Regions from separate parts of the Homo sapiens genome. Here region 2 is linked to region 1. The links are contacts of gene promoters, found by promoter capture Hi-C in blood cells and fetal thymus (Javierre and others, 2016). All regions are on one chromosome and are shown on one strand. Each heading gives the region's core, a stretch centred on a gene start or on the middle of the fragment in contact. The rest is flanking DNA. Distances are from core to core; before and after follow the strand shown.

The links. The method cuts DNA at HindIII sites, captures the fragments that hold promoters and counts their contacts. A CHiCAGO score of 5 or more calls a contact.
Region 2: a contact is called between a fragment that was not itself captured here and the fragment with the promoter of SMAD7 in region 1, in 1 of 17 cell types (activated CD4 T cells). The highest score is 6.6, in activated CD4 T cells.

The regions. Positions count from the first base shown.
Region 1 is chr18:48,949,382-48,952,450 of GRCh38, reverse strand. SMAD7 (SMAD family member 7) reads left to right here and starts at 1,486. Exons shown (of 4, transcript NM_005904.4): 1 at 1,486-2,639. The coding sequence starts at 2,027. RefSeq lists silencers at 313-1,012, 2,229-2,548. The HindIII fragment of the contact is 3,263 bases long and covers 1,079-3,069 here.
Region 2 is chr18:50,269,566-50,272,279 of GRCh38, reverse strand. MBD1 (methyl-CpG binding domain protein 1) reads left to right here. Exons shown (of 17, transcript NM_015846.4): 16 at 740-811; 17 at 2,462-2,714. The coding sequence ends at 779. Among named protein-coding and RNA genes, the nearest start is that of CFAP53, 4.4 kb to the right of the region's middle. The HindIII fragment of the contact is 1,766 bases long and covers 520-2,285 here.

The sequences.
Region 1 (3,069 bases), core at 237-2,736:
GTGCTCCCTGCTTTTCCAATTTCTCCATGGCTCCGGCCGGGGCTCAATCCATTCTGGGAGCTTCTCTGCCCCCCACCTATCTCTCTCCCCTCCATCGGTACCCCCTCTACAGACCCGGGAGGGGGTGGCGGTGGCGGGGGGTTGGGGGGAGAAATAGCTTTTAGAAACCCGATCTGTTGTTTGCGAAACACAATCGCTTTTTTTTTTTTTTTAAAGCGACAGGGTGTCTAGACGGCCACGTGACGAGGCCGGAGCCGGGCGCGCCACTGCGCAGTGGAACCAGCCGAGCAGAGGGCCGGAGGGGGGGTGCGGGGGGGCGGGGAGGAGGCGGCGCGGCTGCGGCGGCTGGGGGCGGGGGAGGGAAGGGGGAGGAAGGGGGAGGGAAGGGGGCGGGGGCGGGAGGCCTTGCGGGAGGCGGTGAGCCCCGGGCACACTCGCTTGCTGCTCGGCGCACGGAAGATCCTGTCCCCGAGCCGCGCCAGCCGAGCCAGCCGGGCGCCGTGCTCGGTCCGCTCGCCGCGCGGGAGAGAGCTGCCCGAGACAGAGCCAGTCCGTCGGCGCCGAGCCGCCGAGCGCCCGGCCCCTGAGCCCCTGAGTGCGGCGCGGCGAGCCCCTGGCGGCGGCAGAAGGACCGGAGCGCCAGGAGAGGGCGGACCGGGGACAAGGAGGCTCCCGGGCGCGACGAGGAGAGTCTCGGAGGAGGAGGCGCCGAGAGGACACCGGGGCCTCCTGCCGCCGCAGCTGGGTCGAGGCGAGCAGCCCATGCGGGGAGCCTCGGCGGCCAGCCGCGGCCAGGGGAAGGGACATCGGCGGCCCCTGCACTAGCAAGCAGCTTGTGCCCGGGGGGGGCGAGAACGCGCGACCCGTCTGGGGCCCTCCGCCGCCGCCGCGCCACCCTCCCCCGCGCTGTCAGCCCCGCCGGGCTCAGCCGCCGCCGCAGCATCTTCTGCCCCTGCGCCCGCGCCAGCCTCGAGGAAGTCCCCGCCGAGGACCTGGGCCCCCAGGAGCGCAGGGGGAAAGACCAGAGACTCCCCTAAACCACCCAGATGCGCAGGATTGAAGCGGTCTAGCCAAAGCTTTCTGTGGATTAAAAAAATACACGATTTTTTTTTTTTTTTTTGGCAGAAGAAAAGGAGAGGAAGACCAGCGGGGCTTTGCAAGGAAACGGGGGGATGTAACTCGTGGATACATTTTTCCACCCATCAAACATCTTGTTATACTTTGTAAACATTTTCTTTTTTTAAACCCCAGTTCCAGCCGGACGCCCCCAGACCTCTGAGGTTCGAGGAGGTGGTGGTTTTCATTTGGGGCTTTGCATATTTGGTTGTTAGGTTTTGCGAGAGCCTTCTTATTTTGCCAGACGTCTCATGCGGGGTGAAGTCCACTCGGCCCCCTCCCCTGAGTCTTCGTGTGCGCGGAATTCGAGGAGATCCGGTTACTAAGGATATAGAGGAAAAAAATAAATCGCTTGCTTTTTTTTTTTTAATTGCCTGCTTCTCCCCACCCCCAAATTAAGTTGCTTAGCAAGGGGGAAAGAGGCTTTTTCCTTCTTCCAACAGCCCAGCCGAACGCCTTTCGTTTTTTGCCCCCGCGGACCTTCCATGTAGGAAGCCGAGGCTGGCGAGCCCGACATTCGGGAGCCACTGCGGGGGGGCCTCTTTTTGGGGAGGCGCCGACGGGGGCAGGCTCGGCCGTCCCCAGGGAAGCGGCGGCCGGGTTCCTCCGGGGCGCGCCGGGGCCGGAGAGCCGCGCAGGGCGCGGGCCGCGCGGGGTGGGGCAGCCGGAGCGCAGGCCCCCGATCCCCGGCGGGCGCCCCCGGGCCCCCGCGCGCGCCCCGGCCTCCGGGAGACTGGCGCATGCCACGGAGCGCCCCTCGGGCCGCCGCCGCTCCTGCCCGGGCCCCTGCTGCTGCTGCTGTCGCCTGCGCCTGCTGCCCCAACTCGGCGCCCGACTTCTTCATGGTGTGCGGAGGTCATGTTCGCTCCTTAGCAGGCAAACGACTTTTCTCCTCGCCTCCTCGCCCCGCATGTTCAGGACCAAACGATCTGCGCTCGTCCGGCGTCTCTGGAGGAGCCGTGCGCCCGGCGGCGAGGACGAGGAGGAGGGCGCAGGGGGAGGTGGAGGAGGAGGCGAGCTGCGGGGAGAAGGGGCGACGGACAGCCGAGCGCATGGGGCCGGTGGCGGCGGCCCGGGCAGGGCTGGATGCTGCCTGGGCAAGGCGGTGCGAGGTGCCAAAGGTCACCACCATCCCCACCCGCCAGCCGCGGGCGCCGGCGCGGCCGGGGGCGCCGAGGCGGATCTGAAGGCGCTCACGCACTCGGTGCTCAAGAAACTGAAGGAGCGGCAGCTGGAGCTGCTGCTCCAGGCCGTGGAGTCCCGCGGCGGGACGCGCACCGCGTGCCTCCTGCTGCCCGGCCGCCTGGACTGCAGGCTGGGCCCGGGGGCGCCCGCCGGCGCGCAGCCTGCGCAGCCGCCCTCGTCCTACTCGCTCCCCCTCCTGCTGTGCAAAGTGTTCAGGTGGCCGGATCTCAGGCATTCCTCGGAAGTCAAGAGGCTGTGTTGCTGTGAATCTTACGGGAAGATCAACCCCGAGCTGGTGTGCTGCAACCCCCATCACCTTAGCCGACTCTGCGAACTAGGTGAGAAGTTGTCCCCCTACCCCCAACATTTTCCGGAGCGCCAGTGCTGGAAGAAAAGCCCCTAGGGCAGTGCGTTTGTGCAGCCATCCCTCCAGGGGGAGTGTGCATACCCTCCTGGGAGAGTGTGCATACCCTCCTGGGAGAGTGTGCATACCCTCCTGGGAAGAGACTGGGGGCTGAAAGTAGAGAAGGGACAAGGGGAAACTCAAAGGGCATTCCCTGGGGGTTCCCTTCCAGGTTTTCTCCTGTGTTGCCCCGAAGGGGTCTACGGGCACTGCTCCTGCAGTCTGCGGTTAAAAATTAGACGCCTTCATTTCCGGATCAACAAGGGGGTGCAGAGGGAGGTGGGGGGGTCACGCCTCCCCGCACCCGGAAAGACGTTGAGGTGTGTGGCCGAGTTGGATTTGGTCCAGGCCCGCCAAGGAAGGCT
Region 2 (2,714 bases), core at 153-2,652, 1.3 Mb before region 1:
CTGTTGCCTGACATTGAGCAATGTGTACCAGAGAAATGGTGCTGGGCTTGCCTGGGCAGTGGTATGGGCAGGAGATCTGGGTTCCGAGCTGGCTTTGTGAGCTGGGTTCACACGTAGTTGTGTGATCTCTGGTTGCCCTGCACTTCCTGGAGCGGCCTCTGTGGAAGGGCTTGGGCTGGATCTCTTGAGCCTTTCCTGAGCCTATTGAGGTTATTAACTTCAGATGCCTTGCAGAACTGTCCCTGTAGTCCTGGCATAGAACAAAGGGTAGATGCCTGTAAGGACTAGGGTGGTTGGGAGGACAGAGGAGTGCTGGCTCCTGCAGAATATTGACAGACCCTGCATAGAGCCCCAGACACTGGCGATGTAAACTATTGGCCTAAGCACTTGGATTCCTTTGCTCCTACAAACCAGCCCACCAGGCTAGAAACCCTTTCATCTATACTTGGCCAATTACAGAAGTATTGATTGAGTTCCTGTTGGGTGCACAGCATTGAGGACAATGAGCCCTGCAAAGCTTACCCTTCAGGAGACACAGGATACCTACCTTCAGGGAGCTTATAATCTGACTATGTACAAGCTGTCTATAATGGTAGTTTTTAGAAGATATAAAAAAAGATAAAGGATAATTAAGGGGAAGTGGATGGAGGACACAGAATAGTAGGAAATGGTTTTGTAATGCTCCATTGCGCACATAGCAAACCTCATTCAACATACAGACCTGCTCCCTTTTCCCTAGGTCCAAAGACCTTAAAAAACCTGGAGCTAGAAAGCAGTAGACTGGAGGCTTCTACAGACTGTAGGATTCAAGGTGATATTTGCAGACTGGCTTTATGAGAGACAACACTGATCTACTAGGGGCTGGACCCTAGATTGGTTGCCAGGGCTTGTGTGTGAATCAACCCTAGGAGGAAAAACCTACTACCAAACCAGAAGAGCAGGCCTAAGAGTACTTTGAGCTTCTAGAAGAAGTAAGCGGGAAAGGAAGAGAAAGAGTAGAAAGTTGGTGCATCTTCTCCTCCCCAAGAGCCTGAGTATAAGAAGTTGGATTTTAAGGGTGGGGGAGCTGGGTTGGAGAAAGGTAATATAATTAAAGCCACCACAAAACAACCTAAACAAGCCATGTTCATGAGTAATTGTAAGTGGCTTCTGGATGAGACCTGGCAGTGTCTCTACATACTTCCTCAGGGAGATAGCAATTGAAAATGTAATTGAATAAATAAGGAAAGGAACTGCTATTTGGTGTGTTCCTCTGTGGACCCAGTTTATTTAATCCTTAAAATAATATTTTTGGGAAGACATTGATTTTGTCCATTTATGTGGATGGGAAAACTGAGACTCATTAATTTGTCCAATGTCGAACAGCTGGTGTTAGTAGAGCCTAGACTCAAACCCAGCTTTTAAAGCCCTTGTTCTTTACTCCACTAAACTGTAACCTGTAATCCTGTATGCACTAACAGGAGTTTTCGGTGACCTTGAAAACACAGATTACTATAATTACTATAATAAATCCCTTACATTCCTGTCTCTAGCATGGTTTAGGGAGTGCCAAGGCTCAATGTAGATGGGGTCACCTTGTCAGAGCATCTGTTCATACAGAAACTGGGTTTCCTGCAGACCCCAGGTGCTGCATAGGATTCCTCAAACCCTACAGGATATATCTCCCCACTGGCTGCTGTCCATTTTGCTTGTTACCCTGACTCCCCCTCTTCAGCCAGAGCAGTCTTTGTAACTAAAGCTGCCAGCCTGGCTCATCTTTCCTGACAACGTGCATCTCCTGCCCTGTGATCACCTTTGTGCTTGGCTCCTGCCCTCAGCCTGAATGTGTTCTAGGAGGCTGAATTCCTGCTTCGAGTCCTGCCCAAGAGCCAGTCTTGGCTCAGCCCTACCTCACTCTCTCCCAATTCTTCATTCATAAAGTGCCAAAAAGATTAGACCTGTAATTTGTTAGCCAGCTTTACAGGGCCAGGACTGAGTGAGTGCCTCCTTAAACTTTGTATCCTGTGTGCCTCCCTTGCCTTACCCTAGTCCCAGCCCTGCAGCTTTAAGTAATTCAGACATGGATTAGCCATTTCCCAGTTCTGTCTCATACAGTCCAGCCTCTGCCACCTTCCCCACCCCTTCCTTTATTCCATCCTAACTAGTTCAGCCCTAGTCAAGACTGGATAGACTGATACTGCTTTGTTTCCCCCAGGAACCAACCACCCAACCCCAGTATTCTGGTAATTTTGACAATGATCTATATGAAATTTATTTGATTGACATTTAGACTCATGAGTTAAGCTTCTGCTGACCATTTATGTTAGGGTACAATCAGAGGAGCAGAACCACTAAGATAAAGATTATGTATATATGTATTTTAAGGGATTTATTATAGGGATCTGACCGCATGCCATTGTGGGAGCTGGTTAAACAGTCTCTGTAAGGCTGTTGTCTTTGCATCTAATGCTGGAGCTTGAAGTCTGCAGGGCAGGCACTCGGGAAGGGAAGATGGATGTAAAGTGTGGGAGACCGAGGACACAGTGGAGCCCACGAGCACGAGCTGGAACCCACGAGGATGGCCTGGAACCCATGTCAGTCTCTCACCACCTCCAGCTTCGATGATGTGGGTGTCCTGCAGAAGAAGCTGGTGCCCTTCCTCACAGAGTTAAATATGCATCTGGCCCAGGAATTAGAGAAGCTGAAAGGATGATCCTGGGGAAGGTGGAGCAGCT